Regions from separate parts of the Homo sapiens genome. Here all the other regions are linked to region 3. The links are contacts of gene promoters, found by promoter capture Hi-C in blood cells and fetal thymus (Javierre and others, 2016). All regions are on one chromosome and are shown on one strand. The core of a region is centred on a gene start or on the middle of the fragment in contact, and the rest is flanking DNA. Distances in the headings are between cores, read along the strand shown. Region 1 overlaps JDP2 (Jun dimerization protein 2). Region 2 holds the start of BATF (basic leucine zipper ATF-like transcription factor). Region 3 holds the start of ZC2HC1C (zinc finger C2HC-type containing 1C). Region 4 overlaps BATF (basic leucine zipper ATF-like transcription factor). Region 5 has its middle 22 kb from the start of BATF. Region 6 has its middle 16 kb from the start of FLVCR2.

What was found. The method cuts DNA at HindIII sites, captures the fragments that hold promoters and counts their contacts. A CHiCAGO score of 5 or more calls a contact.
Region 1: a fragment that was not itself captured here is called in contact with the fragment with the promoter of ZC2HC1C in region 3 in 2 of 17 cell types (neutrophils and monocytes); the score reaches 5.9 in neutrophils.
Region 2: a fragment that was not itself captured here is called in contact with the fragment with the promoter of ZC2HC1C in region 3 in 1 of 17 cell types (neutrophils); the score reaches 5.5 in neutrophils.
Region 4: a fragment that was not itself captured here is called in contact with the fragment with the promoter of ZC2HC1C in region 3 in 1 of 17 cell types (neutrophils); the score reaches 5.6 in neutrophils.
Region 5: a fragment that was not itself captured here is called in contact with the fragment with the promoter of ZC2HC1C in region 3 in 1 of 17 cell types (neutrophils); the score reaches 6.0 in neutrophils.
Region 6: a contact is called between a fragment that was not itself captured here and the fragment with the promoter of ZC2HC1C in region 3, in 1 of 17 cell types (neutrophils). The highest score is 7.3, in neutrophils.

The regions. Positions count from the first base shown.
Region 1 is chr14:75,467,922-75,472,589 of GRCh38, forward strand. JDP2 (Jun dimerization protein 2) reads left to right here. Exons shown (of 4, transcript NM_001135048.2): 4 at 1,369-4,668. The coding sequence ends at 1,554. Among named protein-coding and RNA genes, the nearest start is that of JDP2, 42 kb to the left of the region's middle. The HindIII fragment of the contact is 2,439 bases long and covers 764-3,202 here.
Region 2 is chr14:75,521,929-75,526,844 of GRCh38, forward strand. It overlaps BATF (basic leucine zipper ATF-like transcription factor), which reads left to right and starts at 541. Exons shown (of 3, transcript NM_006399.5): 1 at 541-817; 2 at 3,156-3,260. The coding sequence starts at 755. RefSeq lists an enhancer at 509-838. The HindIII fragment of the contact is 3,061 bases long and covers 1,089-4,149 here.
Region 3 is chr14:75,068,355-75,073,178 of GRCh38, forward strand. ZC2HC1C (zinc finger C2HC-type containing 1C) reads left to right here and starts at 1,287. Exons shown (of 3, transcript NM_024643.4): 1 at 1,287-1,395; 2 at 2,201-3,557. The coding sequence starts at 2,220. It also overlaps a transcript of ACYP1 not described here. RefSeq lists enhancers at 930-1,481, 1,482-2,033 and a silencer at 1,186-1,305. The HindIII fragment of the contact is 2,993 bases long and covers 1-2,058 here.
Region 4 is chr14:75,540,685-75,545,065 of GRCh38, forward strand. The region is part of intron 2 of BATF (basic leucine zipper ATF-like transcription factor); the gene reads left to right. Among named protein-coding and RNA genes, the nearest start is that of BATF, 20 kb to the left of the region's middle. The HindIII fragment of the contact is 7,175 bases long and covers 1-4,381 here.
Region 5 is chr14:75,498,316-75,502,941 of GRCh38, forward strand. No RefSeq gene overlaps it. Among named protein-coding and RNA genes, the nearest start is that of BATF, 22 kb to the right of the region's middle. The HindIII fragment of the contact is 4,882 bases long and covers 8-4,626 here.
Region 6 is chr14:75,560,632-75,565,087 of GRCh38, forward strand. No RefSeq gene overlaps it. Among named protein-coding and RNA genes, the nearest start is that of FLVCR2, 16 kb to the right of the region's middle. RefSeq lists an enhancer at 1,646-1,725. The HindIII fragment of the contact is 2,358 bases long and covers 644-3,001 here.

The DNA.
Region 1 (4,668 bases), core at 733-3,232, 400 kb after region 3:
TCTCAGAGTTCCCGGGCACTCATGCTGCCACCTCAGAGATGAGCCAAGGAACAGTTCGGTCAGACCAGCTGTGGGAGGAAGACGGGACCCCTGGAGGGAGAGGGTTGGGCCCACTGAGGGTTCTGGGGACCCCCTGGGGAGGCCGCTCCACCTGTACCCTGCCAGGAGGACTGGCAGGCTTATGGGCTTACGGGCCCTCTGGTTGTCACATACGCAGTTGCAACTACTGCTTGCTCTTTGACTGATACAAGTTGCTCAATCTCTTACGCTATCGCCATTTTGGACTAAATACTTGTGGGGCTGGCCTGTGCATTGAAGGGTGTTTAGAGCATCTCTGGCATCTACCTGCTAGATGCTGGTAGCACAGCTCCCTCTGAGTTGTGACAATCAAAAATGTCTGCAGACATTGCCAAATGTCTCCTGGGAGGCAAAAATCAGTCCTAGTTGAGAACCACTGGTCTGAAACTTTGCTGGCCCTCGAATAAATGCCAAGTCTCAAAGTTTTCAGACATAATCCAAGAAAAATCATTCAGATGCTGTTTTACTGTTCAATCCCCCAAGCCTTGAATCGATATGCCCATCTCCCATCTACACGATGGACATGTAACCCTCGCCACCTCCCGAATCAAATCGTCAACATTCCTTCCTTCCCCTGGAACCTCTCCAGCTGAGCCGGAAGTTCCCTGGAAATCTCACTCAAGGTCTATTGGAAACCTCATTTGGGATCCAGCAGGATGACTGCTGATTCCCTGTCTGTGGGCAAAGCTTCCAGATTATAGGGATAAGGAAGAGGCTATTGAAATAATTATAGACTAATAGCTAGGAAGCACATGTTTTAGGAGGAATGACATGACTACACTACACTCACTGATCCCACCGGCCAAGATATCTCCCACATGTGTCTGTCACACATCAAAGCACGTTGCCGTTACACTGCCATCTGGGTCCCCTCTTGGGCCCCCCCATGCTTGCTCCGTAGACCTGCTCTAGGTCCACCTGGCCTCCTTTCTTTGCCCACCCTTTCTTTCTTGTGCAAAGGCCCTGAGGCGGCAGAGTATTTGGCATATTTGAGCAACAGCAAGGTGGTCACTGAAGCTGGGGTGGATTGAGGGAGGGGAGAGAGGTGGGACGTGAGTCTGGCTGGCCCTAGAATATAACCTGGACATGACACAGGCCAGTGTCACCGCTGTGGCAGGCACTGCCTGCAGAAAGTCAGTTAGCCAGGGGCTCAGTAGCAGGGTCTGTGCTTCTTCCTGCAGAAAACAGGCCAGTGCCAGCCCAGCGTGCCCTGTGCCTAACCACAGGCAGAGCCTCTCCCCAGAGCCAGTCCCCGTGAAACTCACAGCGTGCTTCTGTGTTGGTATACAGGAATCCGAGCGGCTGGAACTCATGAACGCAGAGCTGAAGACCCAGATTGAGGAGCTGAAGCAGGAGCGGCAGCAGCTCATCCTGATGCTGAACCGACACCGCCCCACCTGCATCGTCCGGACCGACAGTGTCAAGACCCCCGAGTCAGAAGGCAACCCACTGCTCGAGCAGCTCGAGAAGAAGTGACCATGGGCTGGGAGGAGGTGGAGGAGGAGGAAGAGGAGAAGGAAAAGTGACGAAGAGAGAGGAGGAGGGGGGCCCCAGATGGCCCTTCCTTTGGTGCATGAAAAACTGTACAATGAGGTTCAGCACAGCCAGCATCAGCCGAGCTTTTTTGTGAAACTCAGATCAGCCACCCAGGAGGAAGAGCGGGCTGAGGAAACCCAGAGGGACCAAGCGCTGAGACCAAAGTTGACCCTCGGGTAGGGTTGTCCTGCCTGGGGCCCCACTTGAAGGAGGCAGGACAGAGGCACCGAGGCCAGGGAGACGCCCAACGAGGCAGCCCTGGGCTCTTCTCTGGCCTCTTCACCAGGGCACCCATCCAAGGAACCTCCGAACAGCCAGGAAAAGCCATGAGTTGCAACCAAAACGCGGCTGAGGATGGAACTCAGAATGAAACTGCAACCCACCTGCCCCCAGCCCTGCCCCTCGCCCTGATGCGAAGCTGGAGAGGGGCGTGCTGCGGGGCCCTGATGCCCCCACCCACCTCGGTCCAGCGCGGCCCTGCCCAGGAGGCGGCAGCCGGGCGCACCCTCGCCAGCCCTGCTGGAGTTTGCTGTGGGCACTGAGGCGCGGGCGCCCTTCCAAAGCACATACTCACCGAATGTTTACAGACTGGCTGTCCTGGCAGGGCTTTCAACTGCACATGTTTTTTATACTTTCCTTTTTTTTTTTTTTTTTAATATTTTTTACAAAAAAAAAGATTTTATACAAGCAATATATATATGGATTTCTATAATCACTCGATGTGATACAGTATAAATATGCTATGGTTTGTTTGTTATGAACAGATAGCCACCAGTTACGGCCGTTGTGTGTAACTCCTAAGTACTGTAGTCTCTGGGTGTCGGGGGTGGCCAGGGCGGGGGCGGGGTGCATTTCCATCCTTGTAAACCCTTCATAGTACTCAGTCCTGTATCGCTCAGTAAACATTGCTCTTACTTACATAGCCGCCTTGCGTGGTGTCTGCCTGGGGAATGGGTGCAAGGCCCTCTCAGGGTCGGAGACTGTTTGGAGCCTCTGCTATAGGCCTGTTCATTTTCACAACAGCTCTCCTATTTCACAGATGAGGAAGCTAAGGCTCAGAGACATTAAGCCACCTGCAGTTACTATTTTGAGAGCAGTCAGAGTGTTCGCTCACTCTGCAGATGTTTTCTGAGGGCCTGTTGTGTGTGCCAGGCCCTGAGAATTCACTGGAGGATGAAACAGACCTAAGTCTTGCCCTTGTGGGGCCTCCAGTAAGGAGTGAATCCTGTGCTTGCTCCATAAGTTGTCTCATTTCGTCTTCATGGCAGCCTTGCCAGGGAACAGCACTTGTCCCCAATTCACAGATGGCGAATTAGAGGTCCAGGGAATTAAACTCGCAGACACCATTTGTTGAAGACTTATTTTGTGACAAGCAGACATAGTCTCTTCCCTTCTCACAAGAGCACAAACTAGGCACGATTCTTCTCATTTTACAGATGGTTTAACTGAGGCTCAGAGAAGGTAAGCGACTTATCCAAGGTAACCCAGCTAGCAAGGGATAGAGCTGGTGTTTGAACTCTCCCTCCAGAGGCCTGTGACTCTCCTCCTGTCACCAACCCACTATGATTGTCCTCATGGTTGAATAGGAAGCTTATGAGGCCACAGTTATAGATTTAGTTTCTGGGAAGGCTGGATAGAGTTCCAGGTTGTCCCATGATCACAGAGTGAACCAACTACCCTGGTCAATGTGTGTCTGACCCAGGGAAGGGTGTGGATGGCTTCTCTGCCCCCTCACCTCGACAGCTGAATCCCTGCCACCCAGGGCCGGAGCAGCTCAGTGGCATTCACTCAGTGCCTGCTGTGTACCTGGCACTCGGCAGTTCTCAAGGCATGTCACGCATGAGGAAGGCGGGAGAGGTGTTTTTAGCTTCCTTGTATACTGAAGCTTGCAAAGGCTACAGTTTACCCAACTAAACTTGACTCCTGCATTCTAATCATGTGTTCTTTCTCCTCCATCCCTGGACTTAGGATAACTAGTTGCTGGTGATGACTTCGTGTCAAGAACAGCAGTGAACCTGGGTTGCTTCCCAAATTGTGGACGAGGCCTTCTGGGATGGGCAGAAGTGGAGAATGGTGATTAACACACCTGTGATCCCTCCCTCGCTCACTCCTCTCAGTTTCCCTCCACCCAACACACTTGGTGTGGACTCCCCTGCACCCCGCCCTAGAAACAGGACCTGGTCCTCTCACTGTCAGCTGTGGCAGAAGGTTGTGGCAGCGGGTTGCCTTCTGTCTCGGGGGTCTTGAGGCTGTCGGTCCGGACGATGCAGGTGAGGCAGTGTCAGTTCTGCATCAGGAACCCCTCGCGCTGTAATCCTTTGATATTTTTCAAGCCATGAGAAAAATGAAGTGGACTTACCAGGGTCCCTCCAGTGACCTAGTGGATGTTCTTACAGGACTGCCGTGTGCCACTGGCTGTGGCTTCCCTGGTCCTGTGCTTGGCCACCGGGAGCTGGCATCTCCAAAATAGAGCCTCCTTAGCCTGTGCAGGTGGGCTGTCTTCCAAAGTCACCACACCAGTGACTTGTGCTGTGCGGAGCCTTCCTCACCAGGACCACTGGCTGCTCCTGTGGCTAGAAGTCACAATTATAGGCTTCATTGCAAGAGCCAGCATTTGAGTTTCTTCTGGGCACCTGCCACTGTGCATGTGTGACCTCAACTGCTTTGTGCACCCTGACTGGGGGGTAGGTGCTAGCGTTCCAACATTACAGATGAGAAAACCGAGGCACACAGAAGAGGTAACCTGCCCAAGGTCACAGGTGTTAGGTGGCAGAGCCAAGATGTTATTGTCAGTCTGACTTCAGGTGCATAAAACCTGAGGCTGAGCCTCCCCATGAGAGGAAAAATGTGTTTGTGGTGTGACCTCAGTTGCCAGGGAACTTGTGCAGGAAGCCGGGAGAGATGGCACAGACCCACCTGTGCTCACAGTACATGTTAAGAATTCCCAAGTCTCAGGCAAACCATCTCCAAGGGTGTTCACAGAAGACACACCTTAAAGGCAAACGGGTTCATGATGTAATCTTCTATTGACTAGCTGTGAACCTCATTTTTCTT
Region 2 (4,916 bases), core at 1,369-3,868, 450 kb after region 3:
AGCAATTCTAGAACCTCCCTTGTGGCTTTCTGATCTCCCACAGCCCTTGTGTTTGATGGTCAGGAAAGGAGAATACCCTTGGATCGTCTTATCTCCAGACCACCCCGAGGCTGGCTGGACTTAAGGGGTGAGGAAAGACAAGATGGGTGAGCAGCTGCTTTCGGCTGAAAACCAGAAAGAAATCCCAGTGTTTTTGCTTTATTTTGGTTTAAAAATCAAGTCGTATGACAATGGAAACATTTTCCTGGTTGTCCTCTCCTCTCTGCCCATGTTGACAGAAGACGGACTTGCTAATTCTGGCTGGGGTTTTTCCCTGCCTGGGCTGTTTTTCTCTTTTATCTTCATCAATTGAAGAGGGCTGCTGTGTCTTTCAAACTGTCGGAAGGTATCTGTATTTTTTTTTCTTTCACATAATTCTGTAGGTCTTTTCCCAGATATGTATTTTTCTCTCTAACTTCTAACTCGCTGAAGTTTCCGCCCATGTGACTTCCAGCGTGAGTTACCAGAAACCACAAGAGAGAGAGAGAGCGTGCAAGCCCCAAAGCGAGCGACATGTCCCTTTGGGGAGCAGTCCCTCTGCACCCCAGAGTGAGGAGGACGCAGGGGTCAGAGGTGGCTACAGGGCAGGCAGAGGAGGCACCTGTAGGGGGTGGTGGGCTGGTGGCCCAGGAGAAGTCAGGAAGGGAGCCCAGCTGGTGACAAGAGAGCCCAGAGGTGCCTGGGGCTGAGTGTGAGAGCCCGGAAGATTTCAGCCATGCCTCACAGCTCCGACAGCAGTGACTCCAGCTTCAGCCGCTCTCCTCCCCCTGGCAAACAGGTAGAGTCCTCCTTTTTCTCTCTCCTACCTTCTGATTCTCCTGGGGGATGGAAAGAGAGCCAGGCTTCCTTGTCCTGCCCAGGGAGCTGAGGATGGAGGAAGTGGCTCGTTGCACGGGCACTCTGTTAGACTTAGGACATGGAATTTGCTACTAAGCTGTGCATATTGGCAGAGATCCTCATCCTTCCACCCATTCTGCCAAAGCCCCTTTTTCTCTCCATTTTCCAAGGCTGCCTATCACCTCTGCCTCACTGGGGTTGCCACCCTAAAAAGCTTTCTAGGAAGCAAAGAGGAGGATGAACATCAAAGAATGCAGAGAAAAGAGTCTACTGTTCTCCAAGGCTGTAGAAAAGTGAGAGGAGTTTTCAAGTGGGCCGCTGGCATGCACAGCTCAAATCCTAGATATGCAGTTTCCCAGGAGACAGCCAATAGGGAAGGGGAGAAAAGGGGTTAGGGAAAAGTTAAAAAAAAAAAAAAAGAAGAAGAAGAAGAGGAAGAAGGAGGAGGAGGAGGAGAAACCCAGGCTAGCATAGAAGGATCTCTCTACTGGGGCACTGCCTCTGTTGCTAGCACAGCCAGCAAGGGGAGATGCTAGAGGTCCAGCCAATATCTCTTTGCTTGTGGCTTCTGGATAGGAGCAAGGAAATGAATGAGGAGGTGGCTCTGGAAATTTGTTGGAAGACATTTGCTGGTAGTTCATCTTAGCTCTGGGGAAACCAGAGAGACTGAGATAGGGATTGTGGGAGCATTTGGAGTCTAGATTGTGACTTCCAAGTCCAAAGGTTTTAGCTTGAGGATTACCAAAAAAGGAGTGCCCTGCCCATCTCACAGCTTCTAGGGTTTTGTTCTGCACCACACTCTTGACATCCCTTGCTGTAGGAAGCCCTCCTCTTTCTCATCCGACATGTATCCGTGGGTTAAAATTTTCTCAACCTTCATAGTTTAAAAACTTCATTCTTTCCTTAGCACAGATATCCACAAGGGTTTTCAAAATGCTGCAGCCAAAATAAAAGTATATAAATATTGAACAGGGCGTATATCCTAAGCCTCTAATAACGGAGCAGCAGGCTGGGATGAGTCTGGGTGGAGACCTCTAGAAGGCACAGAATCCAGTCTGCTGCTCAAGATGGTGTCAGAGTGGCTCTGACTGCCTGGAAGTTTGTACTTTTCTTAGGAAGGAAATTACTCATGGCTTCCATGGTAACCTGGTGCCCCATCCCCCTTAGAGGAAGAGCACTTCCTTCCTATCTATGCCAATGACCTCCTACCACAAAGGCCTGAAAGTATTGGACATGTTGGTGAGCCCAGTACTTAGTGATCCCAGAGCTTTGCCCTTGGATCTGTGCCCCTCTAGCCTGTGGGAGACGTGGAAGGGAACAGGGCATGAGTTGCCAGGACTCCTACACCTACACTGCAGCATCTGGGAGAGAACTGGAGCTAACCTCTCTGCCCAGGCACAGGACATGCCTCTCTCTGGGTGTAATTAGAGAACACCCAAAGATCCCCTTATCCTACCAAGCACCCATCTACTGCCCACCACAGCCAGGTCACCTCCACCATTAACGTTCTTTTTGGCATTGATGTGCCAGGCATTGTGCTGGGGCCATGGGGAATGTCACAGTGGCTGAGCACAACGGAAGGAAAGAGGAGGCAGATCTGGGATGCACCCTCAGCTCAGGAATGCAGCAGAAGACCACATGGGGTGCAGAGTAGCTAGCGGGGAAGGGTCTTGGAAAGCCATTGGGCTCAGCACCAGAAGATGTAGCACTCTCAGATGACCAGGAGTCCTTGGGCACACTCTTAGAGCCTCAGTTTCCTCACATATAAAATGGAAATGATGATATCAACTTCACAGCATTGGGGAATTAAACAAGAGCACTTCTGAAAGAACACTTGCCCAGAGGTTGGCATATAGTAGGCACTCAACAAAGTCTGAAAAAAAGAAAACAGCTAAAAGAACAGCAAGAAGAGCCTAAAGGCCAAAAAGTGAGAGGGCGAGGGTGGAGCAGCCCTACAGAGGAGAGGTGATAAAACACACTTCATCGCCTTAACCATTTTTTTTTTTTTTGGCCAAATACAGCTCTATTGAGTCCTCAAGTTCTCTTTTCTTTTTCCTGTAGCTATTGGTCAAAAAAGTCAGAGACCTGGGAATGTGTAAGCAGGCATGGAGAAGAGCTCTCCTTCGGGTGCAGGCTTTTGGTAAATAGAGGGATGGAGGGTTCATGCAGAGACGAAGGCATGGAAGGATGGCTGGACGGATACCACACACCACCAGAGCCTGCTTTCACTCAGAAGGGAGATGCAGACCCATGTAATCCTCCCCGTCTCTGCTTCCCAGGACTCATCTGATGATGTGAGAAGAGTTCAGAGGAGGGAGAAAAATCGTATTGCCGCCCAGAAGAGCCGACAGAGGCAGACACAGAAGGCCGACACCCTGCACCTGGTAAGTGTTCAGATCAATCTTCATCCTCGTGAGCTTTAGGCTTTGCCCTCCGCCATCTGGGAACCCTTGGACCATAGCTTTGATTCTGCTTGTGTGGGGATGTGTATGTGGGGTGGGTTAGTGGAGGGTGAGGGCCGTGGGGTGAGGTAGGGAAGGGAAGCTGTCGTGAGAGTGCTTTAAGAAGGCTCTGTAGTCCGGGCGTGGTGGCTCACACCTGTAATCCCAGCATTTTGGGAGGCCAAGGCGGGTGGGTCACCTGAGGTCAGGAGTTCGAGACCAGCCTGGCCAACATGGTGAAACCTCGTCTCTACTAAAAATACAAAAAATTAGCCAGGCATGGTGGTGCATGCCTGTAGTCCCAGCTACTTGGGAGGCTGAGGCAGGAGAATCACTTGAACAGGCAGAGGTTGCAGTGAGCCGAGATCGCGCCATTGCATTCAAACCTGGGTGATAGGAGTGAAACTTCATCTCAAAAAAAAAAAAAAAAAAATAGAAGGCTCTGTAGCAGGGAATGGGCCAGGAGGCTGAACAGAGAAATGGGCCTTTCTACCCCAGGAGGGCTCAAGGGGTGGGAGAAGGCAGAGCTGTATTGGGAAAGAATTTAGAAGGTATCAAGTGCTTTGGGGACGGCCCATTGTCTCGCAGTGCAAGGACCACACATAGTCGCATCCCTTGGCAGAGACCCAAATGCCCCTGCATTTGACACAAGGAAATTCACAGGGCGCTGTACCAGATTCCTCTTTTCAGAGCATTATTAAAGTCTTATTTTGAAATTTCTGTCTTTAATGGTATCCCAAGGGGTCTATGAAAGATGCAATTTCAAGTGCCCTTATCTGGGATGATCACCATCCTAGTTGAGTTGCCTCTAGTCCCAAATTTTTCTAGAGAAAGCTTTTACCTCTGTCTTGAGTGGTCCAGGGGCCTTGAGCAGTGCTGAACTGCAGTTCCGCCAGTGGCCAAGGCCCTAGATGGTGTTTCTAGGTTCTGGCTGTGCCCCTTATAAAGTACTGCTTCCTCCCCATTGCTCATACCTTACCACCTTACCTCTCTTCACTCTGCCCCCAGTATGGTTCTTGTTCAACCAACTCTTCACTAGTTCCTTTCTCTCCATCCCCTCATCCCCTTCCCTAGCAACTCTACCTTCCTGCCCTTGCTCCAGAAACATTCCCTTACCTCTAATAGCCTAGCAATTCCTTTCCATGGAAAAAGTGCAATTGGCACCAAAAATCAATAAGCTTGTATTTATCTGGAAGATTAGCATGATAATCAGCCAGTTAGAATGGCTGTGTTAACCGTATCAAGAATAAGTAAGTAAGATGTAGTTTTAGGGGAAATAATGCATCTTTCAGCTTTACAAGGAAACAGAGCAGACTGCACCAACAGCTCTGATTGGGTGCTTGGGTTTTATTTGAAATGTATTCAGCTTACACTCCATTGCACACTAACATTAAATTCACAGCTATTTGTTAACTTTTTGGAAAGAATGAATGAACAGAAAGTCTGTACTAACTGTGCTCAACAGTCTGAATGTCAAGTTTTTGGTGGCCCTGCTGCTTGTATGTTCTCCATGATTTCACTGTGTCCCCACATTCTGGTTTACCACCTTAAGCTTGAACATCTATGATCCTTACCTCTTTCTCTATCAGAGTCTGATTC
Region 3 (4,824 bases), core at 37-2,536:
ACAAAACAAAAATGCAGGGGTAAAGTGATGGAGTCAATTCCCGGAGGGTACTGAAAAGGACTAATTCAAGAGAACTCAATGGAACTCAATGGAAAGTCGCCCTTCTTTCTCATAGAGGAGAGGGAAGGAGAGAGAGAGAGGAGAGAGGGAGACAGACAGAGACAGAAACAGAGGAGAGAGGGAGAGGAGGAAGAAGAGAGAGAGACAGAGAGAGAGAGAAAGAGAAAAAGAAAGCCGGTAAATTCTGCTGAGGGAAGCTGTGGGAGTTGATAATCGGGACCCTGAGTGGAGTGGGAAACGTCTGGAGCTGCATATACGGAGAGGCGGTAGAGTCAACTAGGGATGAAAACGAGGAATTAAAAAAAAAAAAAAGACTGATCTGGAGGGTCCACCAAGGAATTTCCTTGTAACGGGTAACAGCTGTAATATGACATGTTGAAGTATTAACACTGATGACTGCTGTCTACATTATTTTCCATGTGCATGAATTGAGTAGTTACAGGGAAAAAGCGAACTGCCTGTTCCAAACGGCTTACACAGATGAACTGAAGCGAAGAAGAAAAATGAACTTTCTTTTGATGTCAACAAGATAGAGTATCATTTACTGTTGAAGCCAGGTTATACTGATTATTTTCGATCTGGTAGTTAACTTTATCATCATTACATTTGGCTGAGTCATTCCTGGGCCCTAAGTAGAGACGGCTAGAATTACCACGTGAGTAAAACATTATAATATCAAAATAATTAGATTGGCCACAAAAACTACCACGGAAAGATACTGCGTAGCAAAAACGTTGGCAGCAAGTTCCAAAGCCTTGGCGAGGACAAGCAAGGAGCGCGCGCGTGCAGCCATACCTGGGGCCCGCCCAGCGCAGCCGAGCGCGCGGAGAAAGGCCAGCAGCAGCCCCGCTCCCGCCAGGCGGGCGGACGCCGGCATCCTGCGGCGGAAGCACGCGGAGGCACAGCCAGGGCCTCCGCCCTTTGCCAGACAAGGGCACACCCCAAGGTCTGGGAGCGTCGTTCTCAGAAAAGTACAAGTTCTTCTTTGAAGGAGCTCCAGAAAAGCCTCTCCCGCCCCTCCCCGGCTCCCCAAGGGCAGGGCTGGACCGAGCTGCAGAGTTGGCCGGACACTGACTGGGTCAAGTGACCTTGGGCTGACCGCACCCCCACCCCCGGTCGCCCCGGGTCGCTGGTGCACTGCGCCTGCGCGCGTCTCCCCGAGGAGTTCGCGGCGAGGGGCGGAGCTTGGCGCGCCAGTGCCTCGGTTTCCAGGCACCGGGAATAACAGAAGCCAGCTGAGAGCGCCTGCGCGGCTGTCGGTTGATGGGGAGGTCAGGTCTGGGAAACTAGGCCCTGGGGTTTTCCCTGAGCAGGAGCGGTGCCCGAGGGCCTCAGGTACGCAGAAGGGCGGGGAGACATGGGATCAGCACCTCCACCTCCTAAGGGACCGAAGGGCAGGAGAGCGAGAGGACTTGTCCCCAGAGGTGGAGTCCGAAGTGGGGGCGCCCCAGTTGACCCTTCGGGACAAAACGTGACTTCAGCCTTAAGGATCTAAAACCGGCCGCGGTCAGGTCAGGTGGCCCTCAACGCTCAGGTTACAAAACTTTTACAGTCTGCGCCACGGGGACTCCTGGGATGAGGGTTTGACAGCCAGGCACCTGCTCCAGGCCCTAGCAGCTTTTGTGCTCTTTGGAATCAAGCACGGTTCCAGCAGGAGGGAAGCCCTGAGAGTTCTTTGTGCCAGTCACTACCTCTGGGCCACAGCTTTCTCACCTGTAAAATGGTGAGGCTGGACTCTGCGGGAACCCTTCAGTTTACAGGGGAAGAAACGGGGGCCAGCAAGGGAGAAGTCGCTTGTCCTGTTACAGGCCTAGAACCTGACTTTCTAGTCAGGTGCTCTTTCCACCTACTATAGAGTATACTGTGCGTGGCAGAGGCTGGTGCTGGAGGAAAGGAAAGCTAGGTGGCAGGAACACCTGTAGCACCTTCGTTTTTCTACCCTCAGGGCCTAACACAGTGTCTTGTGCATAATCACTCACCAAATGGTTTTTGAAGGGAAGCTTTGGCAGGTCCAGCAACACTGTCCCCAGAAAAGTTTAAGGGAATGTGGGCAGGGCAAATGTAGAAATAGTTTGCTTTAGCAGCCGAGAGTGAACCTCAGACAAACTCTTCCCGTGTATCTGGTTTAAATCTCCCGTAGGCGTCAGTCCAGGCCCTGAATGGCTGGTCTCCAGCGGTTGGCGTCACATCTGCCTGTGGGCGTTATGCTCCCACATAATACAACGGAAGCTCCAGGGCCCCACTCAGCCAAGCAAGACTCTTACGAACAAGGTGACTCTTCCCAGCAGTCCTTGAAGGGGCACCTGAGGAACAATTTCCAGAAGCAGCTTTTGAGCAACAAAGAGTTGATTCTGGATAAAGTCTATACTCACCCCAAATGGAACACCCAAACAAAAGCCCGGAGCTACTCCTATCCCCACTGTACTGGAATCAGCCAGCAAGATCCAGAAAGTGATTCCCAGGGCCAAGGAAATGGTTTGTTTTACTCGTCAGGCCCTCAATCCTGGTATCCCAAAGCCAATAACCAGGACTTTATCCCCTTTACAAAGAAACGAGTTGGAGTGGACCGGGCGTTCCCATTGAAACCCATGGTCCACAGGAAGTCGTGCAGTACAGGTGAGGCTGGCACTGATGGGGACCATAATGTCTACCCAAGGCCCCCTGAGCCGAGAGAGTTTTCATCTAGGAACTTTGGTGTGAGGAACCAGGGCAACTTTTCTGTGGTTGGTACTGTTCTTGCTGCCACGCAGGCGGAGAAGGCCGTGGCAAACTTTGACAGGACGGAGTGGGTGCAGATCCGAAGACTAGAAGCTGCAGGGGAGAGCTTAGAGGAGGAAATCCGAAGAAAGCAGATTCTCCTGAGGGGAAAGCTGAAGAAGACAGAGGAGGAACTCAGAAGGATCCAGACGCAAAAGGAACAGGCCAAGGAAAATGAAAACGGAGAGCTACAGAAAATTATACTCCCCAGGAGCAGAGTTAAAGGTAATAAAAGCAACACCATGTACAAACCTATCTTCTCCCCAGAATTTGAGTTTGAGGAAGAATTTAGTAGAGACAGGAGAGAGGATGAAACTTGGGGACGGTCTCAACAAAATTCAGGTCCATTCCAGTTCTCTGATTATAGAATCCAGAGGCTCAAAAGGGAAAGGCTGGTAGCAAGCAATAATAAAATTCGAGACCCAGTCTCAGAGCCATCGGTGGAGAAATTCTCCCCGCCTTCAGAAACACCAGTCGGTGCTTTGCAGGGATCCGCCAGAAATTCCAGCCTGTCCATGGCACCAGACTCCTCAGGTTCCAGCGGCTCCATTGAAGAGCCACAGCTGGGTGAGTGCAGCCACTGTGGGCGCAAATTCCTCTCGTTCAGGCTGGAGAGACACTCCAACATCTGCAGCAGGATGCGGGGTTCCAAGAGGAAAGTGTTTGACTCCTCCAGGGCCCGGGCTAAGGGCACAGAACTAGAGCAGTACTTGAACTGGAAGGGGCCAGCTTCAGCCAAGGTAACAAGAGCCTTATGGATGTGACTTGGTGTGGTGATCATTGTAGGGGTCTGTTTTGTCATCATCAGTTTTCTTTAGGGAAAATTCATGTGTCATGTAGGAAGAATTGACGTCTAGAATTAACATTTCTTGATTACTACTGTATGCCAGCATTGTGACGGGAGCTTTTCATGTGATCTCCACATTATCTCTCATTGTATCAGTTCAAAAATCAAGACTTGGACAGGCTAAGTAACTTGCTTGAGGTCACAAACAGCTTTAAGTGGCAGAGTCGGCATATAAATCTTGGTTGGAATGACTAAAAAATCTAGACATAGAATTTGTGTCCTTTGGATTATAAAAGTAATAAAAGTTTACTGTAGAAAATTTAAAAGACACAAAAAATCTAAAGAAAAAAATGCAGCCTTTTGTCACCTGGAGAGAACTCCTCACTCTTTGCAATGTATTCTGCCACTTCCCAAGACTAGGATCTGTGACCATTCCTTTAACTATTCACTCTTTTAAGGTTAGCTCAGTGTTAACATAGCTTCTTAGTAAATAGATGAAACACAATTAAGTTTGGAATTCTTTTTCTGCCCATTTAGAATGTAAACACCTTGAAGGTAAAAAGGACTTTCTTTCTGGTTATCTTACAAACCATGCCCTTGCCAATTATTTCTCACTTTAGAAAAACCAGGTTGGAAAAAGTAAGGGTTTCGTGACACTTACATGATAAATTTAGGTGAACTTCATAGGCACATTTGGACATATCTGGAGAAGATTGTCTCATAAATGAATGACATGTCAAGGTTGTGCCACTTGGTTTATAAAATGGTTATTTCTCAAGGTGTGGCATGCTGACAAACTTTATTTTAGTAGTTTTAGTGTTTAGTGTTGTATTAGAAAAATTGATTCGTCGTTTAGTGTTATATTAGGAAAATATAACAATATATTAAGCCCCTGATTTCCAGGGATCATGAATTTACAGAAAAATATTAATTAGTTGTAAGGATGAAGTGAAAGTGCAGATGATTGAAGTTTGGGAAAGCGTAGATCATATGATCTCAGAGGCCCCATCTAGTTCTAATATTCCAGAAGAATAAGAGAGTGTCATTCTGTTTTCATTTCTTCCCAACCCTCCCTCCGCTGTGCTGGCACCTCTTGTCCATTGGCACTTTACAGTTTCTGTGTATTTGCTGGAGCCTTTAAAAACTCACATTTATATGATGGTTGTTAGAAGAAATTGTTTACAATTAGAGTTCTTTCTTTTAGTAGTTTGGAGAAATCA
Region 4 (4,381 bases), core at 1,632-4,131, 470 kb after region 3:
AAACGGAGATAATATTTTCTACCACACAAGTTTGTTGAAAATATCAAATGTAATGATAACCATAAAATACTTAAAAGAGTGATTGGCACACGGAAGTATTCAATAAATGTTAGTTATTGGCCAGGCATGGATGATTCACGCCTGAAATCCCAGAACTTTGGGAGGCTGAGGCAGGCGGATCACTTGCGGTCAGAAGTTCAAAACCAGCCTGGCCAACATGGTGAAACCCCGTCTCTACTAGAAATACAAAAAGTTAGCCAAGTGTATTGGCGGGCACCTGTAACCCCAGCTACCCAGAAGGCTGAGGTGGGGAGAATTGCTTGAACCAGGGAGGCAGAGGTTGCGGTGAGCTGAGATTGCACCACTGCACTCCCAGTCTGGGCAACAGAGAGAGACTCTGTCTCAAAAATTAAATAAACAAATAAATGATAGTTAAGTTAACCTAGGCTATTTTTTTAAAAAAATTTTGGTTTCTATCCACCTTTTTCGTATAAATTGAGCCAGGTTACACCTTAGACCTATTAGATCAGAATCAGGCATCAGGATTGCTAAAGCTCCCCAGGGGACCCCAGTGTGTGGATGAGGTTGAGAATCATTGTTTTGGTCCAGTCTTTCCATTTTAAAGTGAGGCAACTGGAGCTGAATAGGGAAATCGAGTCACTGAGGATCACCCAGCCAGGACCAGGGCCCAAGTTCCTATTCCCATTTACCGCTGATGGAGCTCACCGTGGTCATGAGTTCAGGACCTGGCTCTGTGTCTGGAGGAAGGTCTGGCCTCGAGTCAGCCCTTGTCCAGAATATCTGGCCAGGTGACCCCCTCTCCATGCAGCCCAGGAGGCAGATGGTCAGCTCTATGATTGGAAGAATGTGAGTGACTCAGGGATCTTGTGTTGTGTTGTGTTGTGTGTGGGTCACCAAAACCGAGACCCAGCTTTCTCCTGGGAGACAACAGGGTAGCCAAGGACTTATTTTTTTGTTTTGTTTTGTTTTGTTTTTTGAGACAGAGTCTTGCTGGGTTGCCCAGGCTGAACTACAATGGTAAAATCTTGGCTCACTGCAACTTCTGCCTCCCAGGTTCAAGTGATTCTCCTGCCTCAGCCTCCGGAGTTGCTGGGACTACAGGCATGCGCCACCACGCCCGGCTAATTTTTGTATTTTTTGTAGAGACAGGGCTTCACCATGCTGGCCAGGCTGGTCTTGAATTCCTGACCTCAAGTGATCTGCCCACCTCAGCCTCCCAAAGTGCTGGGATTACAGGCGTGAGCCACAGCACCTGGCCAACTTTCTAGTGTTCTCGGGAGACCTTTGCCCACTCAAGTCTCCAGTCTCTCGGGGGAAGCAGTCAGTGTGAGAGAAGGAACACAGGGCCCCGAGCCAAGCCCTGCTCTGCGCCTCCCTCGCGGGCAATGAGTCTTTGCATCAAACACTCAAAGTTTCTGAACTTCTGAGAAAACAAGTGCCTTGAGGTGAATCCTATAGCACAGCTGTCACCAGCCTGTGGTCATTTTGGAGGGTATGTGGCATAGGTTTGTCCCAGGGTCTCAGTTGTCCTCATCTGTAGAGTGGGGATAATAACAGCTGACCTTCCCTATCCCACACAGAGCGTTATTGTGAGGAGTCTGATGGACCTGGATGAATTCTGAATAGGAGAAAGATGGGTACATGGATGCCCAAATGCAGGCTCACCCCCACCCCTCTCAGTAGCAGAAGACATGCATATGGGAGAAGCTGCATTTCCTCCCAGCCTCACTGTGCTCTAGGTGTCCAGCCCTCATTGTTAGGGGATGTCACTGTTGTACCTCTGGATAAACAGCTGCTCTCATGCCACCTTTGCCAGTTGTCCCTTCAGCTGGGCGAGCCCTTTCCAGGGCATGACTGCCCCAAGGAGGGCCAGAGGGGACTGGGCAATAGCAGGGACATGGAGGGACGAGGCCCCAGATCAGCCACTTCCTCCTGCAAGGGAAGTCAAACCCTTTCTCTCATAAGTGTCAGGCTGGCTGCACGGTCCCTGGGCTGGCAGGGCAGGTTTCTTGGGGGCCCTAGCAGGAAGCACTCTTGCTTCCCAAGGTAAAGACAAGTTTCTTATCACTGGCGGTGGTTTTCTGGTTAGAGGCAGCAGGCAGCGGTTACAAACTTTGCCTAGAGCTCTGGGATCTGCAAGCCAGGGAGGGGGAGGCAGACGACAGAGCTAGAGTGAGCTCAGCAGAGCTTGCTTAGGGAGGAAGGACCCGCTGTCACTTCCCGAAAGCTGGGCCAGCCTCTAGGCGGGGAGAAGGTCAGAGTGGCCCTCCCTTCTGCCTCGGGGTTTGCCCAGGCTCTTCAGAGCACAGAATTTACAGTAAATGTTGTCACCAGTGGAAACTCTCAGAGGGGGCGAAGAAAAGGGCTAGAGGAAGGAGCCAGGACTCCCGGCCCCCAGTTCCCGTCTTACCAACACCCCCTAGTCTCATCGTGTTGCTTGATCTTACCTTTCGGTAAAGAGGGGATGCCCTCCTTCTGGGATGTGCCAGGAAATACCCAAATGGTAAAATGAATGAGCCGGCCACACCTTGCAGAAGGCAGGGCTGTGACTCCATCATCGTGGCTCTTGATAACTCCTCTGCCCCGTTTTAGAGGGGCTTCCTTTGTACTGACCTTGGCACACTTTCTAGCTCAGAGCCCCATTCAAGAAATGCCAGGTTGAGGCTGAGCATGCTTGTGTCTGTCCTTCACAGATGATGGAACCTGGCTTGATGAGCAAGGCCATGTTGGTATATGCTTCTCTGCCATTTAGAAAGACCCCCCCCAGGATGTGGGGTTTAAGATGATTGACAGTATAACCGATTAACCTCATTAGCCTACAGCTCATGCACCTGATGGATTCGTTAGGGCAAATTTTATTTTATTATTTTATTTTATTTTTTGAGAGAGGACCTCACTCCATCAGTGAGGCTGGAGTGCAGTGGCATGATCATGGCTCACTGCAGCCTCCAACCCCTGGTGCTCCATAGCTAATTTTCTTTTATTTTTATTATTGTAGATACTGGGTCTCAATAATGTTGCACAGGCTGGTCTTAAACTCCTGGGCTCTCAGGAGGTAGAGGTTGCAGTGAGCTGAGATCGCACCATTGTACTCCAGCCTGGGAGACAGAGCAAGACTGTCTCAAAAAAAAAAACCCAAAAAACCAAAAAACTGCTGGGCTCAAGCGATCCTCTCACCTCGGCCTCCCAAAGTGCTGGGATTATAGGTGTGAGCCACTGCACCCAGCCTATTTAGGGCAAATTTTAAATGTCAAGTTATCTTACATCTGCTCACCACCCACCCTATTTTTGAGTTACCTTCTTCATTCCAGCAGATGATGTCATAAGTCTGTCAGTCAACAAACATCTGAGTTCATACTATGTGCCAGGCATTGAGCCAGGCATTAACAAATAGGCATTTAATAAGTGCTTGAATAATTAAAACAAATTTAAAATAATATTTAACTAGTGCTTTCCAACTTGCCTGATCATTAGAATGACCTGTGGCACTAGTTAAAAATCCAAATTTCACTCCCTAGTAGTCTAGTGGCTAGGATTTAAAAAAAAAATTATTATTATTTTTTTAATTCAGCTCTGCAGCCAGGCATGGTGGCTCACGCCTGTAATCCCAGCACTTTGGGAGACCAAGGTGGGCAGATCCCCTGAGGTCAGGAGTTCAAGACCAGCCTGGCCAACATGGTGAAACCCCGTCTCTACTAAAAATACAAAAACTAGCCAGGCGTGGTGGTGCCTGCCTGTAATCCCAGCAACTCGGGAGGTTGAGGCAGGAGAACTGCTTGAACCTGGGAGGCAGAGGTTGCAGTGAGCCAAGATCACACTACTGCACTCCAGCCTGGGTGACAGAGTGAGACTGTCTCAAAAAAAAAAAAAAAAAAAAAAAAATTCAGATCTGCAGACTTCACTCCGCAAATCCCAAAACCACTGATTCACATTCCTAGATTTTAGGATGGGCCTGAAATTCTATTCTTAACAAGCCTTCAAATTAATTCTCATGATATGGCAAGTTTGGGAAATACTGACCTAATCCAAATAGATTTAGAAAGGTAAGACCTGGTCTCCAAATATCAGGTTGCCTTTTGAACTGAAATTTTTTTTTTTTTTTTTTTTTTGCATCTCCAATGATATTTGCCTTTCCTCTGTGGTTACCAATGCTTAGCAGAGAAAGTCTGTTTGGTTGAGTCGAATAATGTAAACCTTAAAATTATACCGGAATTGCGATCTCCTGGGCTTTCTGAGGATGGGATTGCTTTTCCATAATTGCTAATTACCAGATTGCAATTGTTGATTAATTAATGATGTGATCAGAAATCAGCACTTCTTAGCAGGCATTTTTCTGATTAGCATGTATTTGATGGTTCCC
Region 5 (4,626 bases), core at 1,199-3,698, 430 kb after region 3:
GCTGGAAAGCTTACCAGAAAGAAGAGGGACCACATGAGGGAGTGGGGGCTTTGTCCTGCAGAGCTGCCATCTCCAATCCTCCTGGATTATCCATTCCATCTGTTAAATTAAAAGAATTTTTTTAATTTATAAATTTCATTAGAAATTATTTTGCACAGGGACCCATGGCCTGGGACACACTGCCTTAGCCCACCCCACCCCCTGTTAAATTTTTTAGCATGCAAAAATATTTGTACATGTCTGTATATAATATAAATACAGGGCTGGCTGCAGTGGCTCACACCTGTTATCCCAGCACTTTGGGAGGCTGAGGCAGGCAGATCACTTGAGGTCAGGAGTTCAAGACCAGCCTGGCCAACATAGTGAAACCCCATCTCTACTAAAAATACAAAAATTAGCTGGGCATGGTGGTGCGCATCGGTAATCCCAGCTACTCGGGAAGCTGAGGCAGGAGAATCGCTTGTACCCAGGAGGCAGAGGTTGCAGTAAGCCGAGATGGCACTGCTGCACTCCAGCCTGGACAACAGAGTGAGACTCCATCTCAAAAAAAAAAACAAACCATATGTATAATTGCTTACAAGACAGTATACAAATATTTATTTACAAAATAGATGTTTGCTCTTATACTAATTATTAAATATGATCATAGCTTAATTTCTTTCTTATTACTTTTGGATAAAAATAAGTAGACATAGAAATTCTGAAATAGGCTCTACAACCCACTGTACATACAAGAGAACTGCTCTATAAATGAGGTTGGGAGCCCCCAGAGAGTTTGAGGACCATCCCTTTCCTCAGAATCAGCGAGATGTGTAACTGTGGCTTGGGTTGTCAAAGCCACTGCTGGTTGCCTCTGTGCTGGGTGATTCAGAGCAAGAAACCTCAGTAGCAGGCCCAGACTCTGTTGCCTTAGACTAAACATCTAGAAGCCCCTGGGCCTGGTGACCCGCAGTCTGAATTTCTGGATGTGCACACCACCATGACCGTGTGCTTTTCTTTTTTTTTTTTTAAGTCAACTGGAACCTGGACTTTATGGTTTCAGGGCTGTCAACAGAAAATGTAGAATTCACGTAGCTGCGGTCTTGCTGTGAAATTTTTGGGTAGAGTGAGCTGAACTTTCTGCCTGGACCATCTGTCCTGAACACCATACACAGCAGAAAATGGTCGAGCTTTGTCTGGGTCCAGGACATCCAGGCCAGCAAATGGCGGAGACATCATGCTGAGTAGGGGATACGGAGTTTTCCAACCACATCACAGGAACTTTCCCGGGGCTCAGGGCTCAGCTCTCAGTGTCATTAAGGTAGTTAGAGAATTGACTCTGACGTTGTTCTCTTTGTCTCTGGCTTGAGAGTAGGGACTGTTGGAAGCACTGGGACCTTATTTTGCCCTTGGGGCTGAGCTCTTCACAAAGGAGATGCCTAATGAGGCTTGAAGATGGCGTCTCCCTGAGCTTTTTCAGAGGAATCCAGGAGCAGCGGTGACAACTAAAAGGTAGCGGCAGTGACACCAACACAGCAGACATTTAAGGAGCGGTGACCACGTGCTCAGGCCTAAGCGCTTTCTAGTCATCATCTCATTGAACTCTCCCAACAAAGCGTGTGGCTACTTTTATTATTCCCACTCCACAGATGACGCCTGAGCCTGGGAGAGGCTTTCTCAGAGTCCCACAGCCATTTGTAGAGCTGGGGTTGCCAGGAGTCCCGGGCCCCAGGCTCCAGTCGCTCTTCCCACCATAGGAGCTGGCAGGACTGGGCTTTGGAACCTCACCTCCTACCAGCGTGTTTTTGGAAGTGGCTATTCTTTTAGGTTCTGCTAACCAAGCCAGGACTAAACCAAAAGGAGAACTCACAAAAGGGTAGCCTTAGGATGTTCACTCAAAACTGCAGGGCATACAATGGTAAATAAGTAAATAGGTTTAAATGGTTTTTAAATTTTAATTAAAAAAAAATAAGGCTGGGCATGGTGGCTCACACCTGTAATCCCAGCACTTTGGGAGCCCGAGGTGGGCAGATCACTTGAGGTCAGGAGTTTGAGACCAGCCTGGCTGACATGGTGAAACCCTATCTCTACTAAAAATACAAAAATTGGCCAGGCATGGTGGTGCGCATCTGTAATCCCAGCTACTCAGGAGGCTGAGGCAGAAGAATCGCTTGAACCTGGGAGACAGAGGCCGTAGTGAGCTGTGATCATGCCACTGCACTCCAGCCTGGGTGACAGAGCAAGACTTCGTCTCAAAAAAAAAAAAATTAAAATTAAAAACAAAACTGTAGAGTATTATCTAAGCCTGGTCATCTTATGCTTTCCGGGCAACACTTTCGGATCAGGAATAAGATGTGAGAGTCCAGATTGAATCAGTTTATCTGTTGGAAGGAGATAAAAGGAGAAAGTTTTTCCAAGCAGCTCCTAAGGGGGAGATTTTTTTGTTGTTGTTGCTATTGTTCTTAACTACTATAAAAATGGTTCATGTGTGTGGTAATAAAATTTCAAACAGTTACAAAAGGATAAAGAAAACATAAGTTTTCCACATCTCCCGGCCTACCCCTAGACTGACTCTTTAGACGTAAACATTTAAAATCAGATCTAGGTTTTGTCCTCCTGTGGTTATAGGCAGAATTCTAAAATATGTTTATACTTCTCTCTCTTAGTTTATCTACTTTAAAGATTGTTTGAAAACTCCTTTATACTTTGAATATTGAGGAATTTAACTCAGTTATATTTCACCGCATGTTCTCCCTCCCAATTTTTATTTTTATATTAAGTCTATCGGAATCTTTATAACTTTAAATAATATACTTACATCTCAATTTCTTGGCCCGTCACCTTTTACAGTATGTCTAACTTACAAAGTGTAAGTTCAGGAAAATACACAAGGCAGACTTCCTTCTGCCTTGTAATGGACACTGTGGTGTGGCGTGCTGCCCAGATCCCTTTCAGGACCAAGGCCTTGATTCCCCAACTTTGGGGAGTGCTGGCAGCTAAGAGGTCTCAGCTGAGTCCCTCTCCAAGAATTGCTTTTGGCTGAAGGGAGTTACCTGGAGATTATGTGAGAGATTATGCCACCTCCCAGAGGGCAGCCCATATCCAGTGACTGGTCAGTATGGGTTATGTGTTATAATGGTGTAGCCAGCCTATTGGCCTCAATGGAGCAACTTTGAAGAGCCATCTGCCTCCTCCCAAACTTCTTGCAGCATTGACTGGGGCCTTGTATCTACTCACTCCTCCCCTGCCTGGTCTTGGCTCCCTCAACTCTCACAGGTGATGTTTCTGAGAACACTCTCCAACAACCTCCCTATACCCAAGTCTTAGAGTCTCAGAGTCTGTTCTCTGGGGAACTTATAAATACCTTCTCTGTATCTCCTATTTCTATTTCTGATTATGGTCAGCTAATAAACAATTACTTTTAATTTTTTTTACTGTGAAATATTTCAAACATACAAACAAGAAAATATAATAATAAAATTAAAACCGGAAGAAACACCACTATAAATAACATTGTCATTTTTTATTCTACCATGACTTTATTATATTACTTTACTATAACTTAGTCTTCCATGCTTTATTCAAAGATTGTTCCTAAGAATTGAAAACAGAAGACAGTAATTACAATAATTTTATTGTGTATTCTTTAGTGACAATCTAAATAGTGAGGTTTGACCTGCAGACAAGCAAATGTAATCCTATGCTATTCAAACTGAGCCGCCTAAAGGGAACTGTTGCAAGATCAAATGTCAAATGGATTTTTTTTATTGTTACAATCTACCAATTGCATAAAATTGTATTACATTTTGGTTTGCTTCTTTTTCAAATTACAACTTTCTATATAGATTTTTACTGGAGTCACCTTTGTTTCATCTTGGTGACAAAATAACATAAACTTTTCCTACTATGATCATGTAGCATTTTATCACCCATTTTTAAAAATTTTTGGGGAAAAAAGCAAATCAATCAAAAAGTTGCTATACTAGAACAGTGAGCCTCCATTCTGTAATAGGTTCACCAGTTTTAAACACAAACACACACACACACACACACACACACACACACACACACTCTTACATATTTCTTTGTAAGCCATTAGAAAATAACTTGTAGAGAACATGACCTATCAGTCTTAAGTACTTCAGTGTACATCTCCTAAAGACAAGGACATAACCACAATGTCATTATCACACCTAAGGAATTTAACAATAATTTAATAATATCATCTAAGATACTATCTATATATAACTTGTAGATAACATGACACATCACTCTTAAATACTTCAGTGCGCATCTGAAATTAATTCGTTCTGGCCAGGCGCAGTGGCTCACACCCGTAATCCCAGCACTTTGGGAGGCTGAGGCGGGTGGGTCACTTGAGGTCAGGAATTCAAGACCAGCCTGGCCAACATGGTGAAACCCTGTCTCTAATAAATATATAAAAATTAGCCGGGCCTGGTGGCAGGCACCTATAATCCCAGCCATTTTGGAGGCTGAGGCAGAAGAATCGCTTGAACCGGGAGGCGGAGGTTGCAGTGAGTCGAGATCTCACCACTACACTCCAGCCTGGGTGATAGAGCGAGACTCTGGCTCAGTAAATAAATAAATAAATAAAAATAAAATTGATTAGTTCTGCTTCTAATAGAA
Region 6 (4,456 bases), core at 573-3,072, 490 kb after region 3:
AAATGAAGAGGAAGAGAATGGGTGCAAGGAGGGGAAGGAAGATTAAAAAGTTGGGTCTGTTCTAAAAAAAAAATCACACCATGGACCATTCCTCCTGCCGCCTCACTCCCCCACCCCAAAGTGTTCATCTACATATGCTCATTTAAAATAAGCATTAGGGGCACCCTTGAAAGAAAAGAAAAGTGCAAAATAAAGGTGATGTATGAAAGAGTGAGGGGTCATCTTGCTAGGGGCAGGGATGATACTGGCTGCCATTTATGATCTCATTTTCTGTTCACTCTATTATTTTAGGAAAGATTATTATCCCCATTTTACAGATAAAGAAAGACTCCGAAGAGGCTAAATGGTTTGCCCAAGGTCACACAGTTAAACGTGGAGATGGGACTCAACCTCTCTTTGGCTGCTTGCAAAGTTGGAGCTATATATAGCAAGCGCAAGCGCACCTGGGGAACTCCCCACATTCCAGGATTACAGCCAGGACCATTGGGACAGCGGTCCCGGGTTGGTGCTGCCACCTAGTGACAGAGAACTGCAGAGATCAACTTTCCTCCCTCTCCTCCGTTCCCCCTCCCTCCTGCATCCTCCTTTCCCAGCTTGAGAGAGTCCTGAACCATGGCAGCCAACCATCACTTGTTTGGGCAGAAGCTTGAATACAGAGAATTGACCTCTAGATGCAAGCTGGCGCCTCATTCAGCTTCCTCACTCTATCCTAGGGCATAGCTCTGAAGAGATGTTTGGGTGAGTGACCAGGAATGCAAATCTGCACAGATTTGGGCATCAACCTGGTTTCCAAACACAAGCTCTGCAGATATTTTACTGTGAAACTCCGGGTAGCCGTGAACAGGATGTTGGCTACATCCTGTTTTAGGGTGATAACTACGTTGTACCTGCACAGTCCCAATCATTGAATACCTGCTAGCTCCCCGGTAACATGTTAATAGCAGCCTCTCATTTCCTTTTTGCCCTATCTTTTTTCCTTTTATTTTAGATTCAGGGGTACATGTGCAGGCTTGTTACATAGGTAAATTGCATGTCACGGGGGTTTGGTGTATAGATTATTTCATCACCCGGGTAATACACGTAGTACCTAATACCTGATAGGTAGTTTTTCAGTCTTCACCCTCTTCCTGCCCTCCACCCTCGAGTAGGCTCCAGTGTCTGTTTGTCTTATCTTTGTGTCCTTAGCTCCCACTTACAAGTGAGAATATGCAGTATTTGTTTTTCCATTTCTGTGTTAGTTCGCTCAGGGTAATGGTCTCCAGCTCCATCCATGTTGCTGCAAAGGACATGATCTTGTTCCTTTTTATGGCAGCATAGTATTCCATGGTGTATATGTACCACATTTTCTTTATTCAGTCTATAGCTGATGGGAACTTAGATGGGTTCCGTCTCTTTGCTATTGTGAATAGTGTCTAATTTTATGTGAAGCCCAAACACCAACACATGTTGCCCAAGCTCACTGAGCAAGGCCTTCAGCCCTGATCTTCAGACTCCAAGTGCAGTGCCCTTCCTACTCCGCTGCCCTGTGCTGTGCCCCGCTCCCCCACAATTCAACTCACCCTGTGAAACCTTGTTTTTGTCAGCCTAGTCATCCAGACATGATGACTCAAGGGTCGCTGTGGAACAGGCTGTCAGGGGAGGACCTGTGTCAGCACAGTGGCTTTCTTGACCTTTATGGCAGTGGGGAGTTACCTCAGTCTAAAACGTGTGGCTGCCAAGTGACTTCAGTCTCAACTGAAGCACGGACATGATCGATGGGCAGATAAGGAAAGCCATTCCCACTCCCTGAGCTTTCCACACCTCCTTCAGCGTCTTCTCTCTTCTCCTAAGTCCAAGATCACCTGGAACATAGAAGCCACGGGTTAAAATTTTTCATTCAGACCTGGCTCTCAGAATCTTGTTGCAAATGGAGAATAAAGGGTCACCTCTAGAAGGCAAAGTGGTCTCACCAAATATGTGCCTCACCCTGTCCACAATTAATCTAGTAATGTCTCTGTCTAGTCCTGCATAATTTGTGTCAGGAAATCCACTTTAGTTACCCATAGTGATGAAATAAACACAACAGTCAGATCTGCACCTAGCACAGTGTATATAGTCAGGGCAGATACTAGGTGACAAGCTCGAAGTAGATTTTTAAACCTGAAATGTATAGATTATCCATCTAAACCGTGATTTATTTCATCTGGGGGTCATTGGGCTGCTTTGACTATCTGATGAAACTGTGGACTCCCCCGCCTCTCCCTTTATAAAACATGTTTCTTTTTTCTTTCTTTCTTTCTTTTTTTTTTTTTTTCGAGACAGAGTTTCATTCTTGTTGCCCAGGCTGGAGCACAATGGCGTGATCTCAGCCCACTGCGACCTCCACCTCCTAGGTTCAAGTGATTCTCCTGCCTCAGCTTCCCAAGTAGCTGGGATTACAGGCATGCACCACCACGCCTGGCTAATTTAATTTGTATTTTTAGTAGAAACAGGGTCTCCCCATGTTGGTCAGGCTGGTCTCAAACTCTTGACCTCAGGTGATCCACCCCCTTCAGCCTCCCAAAGTGCTGAGATTACAGGTGTGATCCACCATGCCCAGCCAAAACACATGTGTATTAATCAATTTGGATGATATGATTTCAGGGGTTTGCAGGATTCTGAAACCCATTCGTAGACCCTTAGATAAAAACTCTTCATCAGTCAACACAGCAGTCACCCAAGACTCAAGAAACAGAGCTGCTGGTAGCAAGCATGGCCCAGGACATCGGCATTGGATTGGAGTGCAGAAGCTCCCAGGTCGCCACAGTGTGGTGAGCCAGGAGGGCCTCACACTCCCAGGAGAAAGCCTACTCCACGTGAGGCAGAATCTTTGACTCGGGCCGTTTCCATCTGTCCACTCTGACACAATGTGTCATTAATGGTGAGCAGGAAGGAGTGGAGACGAAGGATGCAAAGAGGTTCGGGAACTGGATGAAGATTTATGTTATGTACATTACTTGATAACATTTTTTAAAAGGTTGAAAGCTTAATAGATTTTTTAAATGATGTACTCTAAAGATGTCCTTCTGATTATAGGTGCGGTTGCTCACACCTGTAATCCTAGCACATTGCGAAGCCAAGGTGGTTGGATTGTTTTGAGTTCAGGAATTGGAAACCAGCCTGGGCAACATAGTGAGACTCCGTCTTTACAAGAAGAAAGTTAAAAAAAATTAGCTGTATGTGGTGCATTCTTATAGTCCTAGCTACTCAGGAGGCTAAATTGGGAGGATTTCTTGAGCTCAGGAGTTCAAGGCTGCAGTGAGCTATGATGATACCACTGCACTCCAGCACAGGTGACAGAGCAAGATCCTGCCTCTTTAATAAATGCTTGAAACGCTTCAACAGCAAACAAATAAATAAAAATGTCTGTTTAATAAACGCTTTCATGCTAAAGTAGCCACGTGTCCTCTGAGGGCCGCAAATGCAGGATTAGGCAAACCTGTGTGAGATGACTGGCAGCCAGGGAATATGATCCTCAGGACATATGAACCTTTCTGCCTGCTTTCCCAAAACAAATAACCTCTTTTATACCTTGACTGATGACTGAAATCCTATTCTTAGAACTTTGTTCCTATGATGTAAGGTATTTATCACCCACCAGGTGCCTGCAAGTGCCTTGGTTTGGATTCTAAGTTGAAATGAGCCCTATTCCTTTGCAGCTCTTAGGAATCAGCTTGCCTCCCCTGATGCTTCTCTTGCACCTGCTGTCCATTCCATTTGCTTATTGATTCATTCATTCAACAAAATGTATTGAGCACTGACTTGTGTGAGACACTCTGCTAGGGAGTAACCAAGGGGCGAAGAAGAAAGCAGACCCAGCACCTGCCCTCATGGAGCCTACAGTCTGCCAGGGGAAACAAACACCAAAGAACTAATTATTCTATTTTTATTTTTTAATTTATTGAAACAGAGTATCACTCTGTCACCAGGCTGGAGTGCAGTGGTGCCGTCTTGGCTTACTGCAACCTCCGCCTCTTGGGTTCAAGCAATTCTCCTGCCTCAGCCTCCCGAGCAGCTGGGATTACAGACGTGCACCACCATGCTCAGTTAATTTTTGTATTTTTAGTAAAGATGAGGTTTCACTATGTTAGCCAGGCTGGTCTCGAACTCCTGACCTCAAGTGATCCACCCGCCTCTGCCTCCCAAAGCGCTGGAATTACAGGTGTGAACCACTGCGCCCTAATTATCCTAATTAAATAATGACAATTGTGGTAAGTGCCATGCAAAAGAAGCATCAGGAGCACATACACTCAGAACATGTGACCGATTTCAGGAAGGAAGTGACATTTCAACTGAGCCTTGAAGGAGGAGTAGAGTGAAACAGATGAGGAAGGCAGGGAAGAGCATTCCAGGCAGAAGGAAAAGCATGTGCCCAGGGTGGCCAGCATGAAGCATGGAGATTCTATCTCCTGGCCTGAGGAGCCTAGTGAGGTCCCCA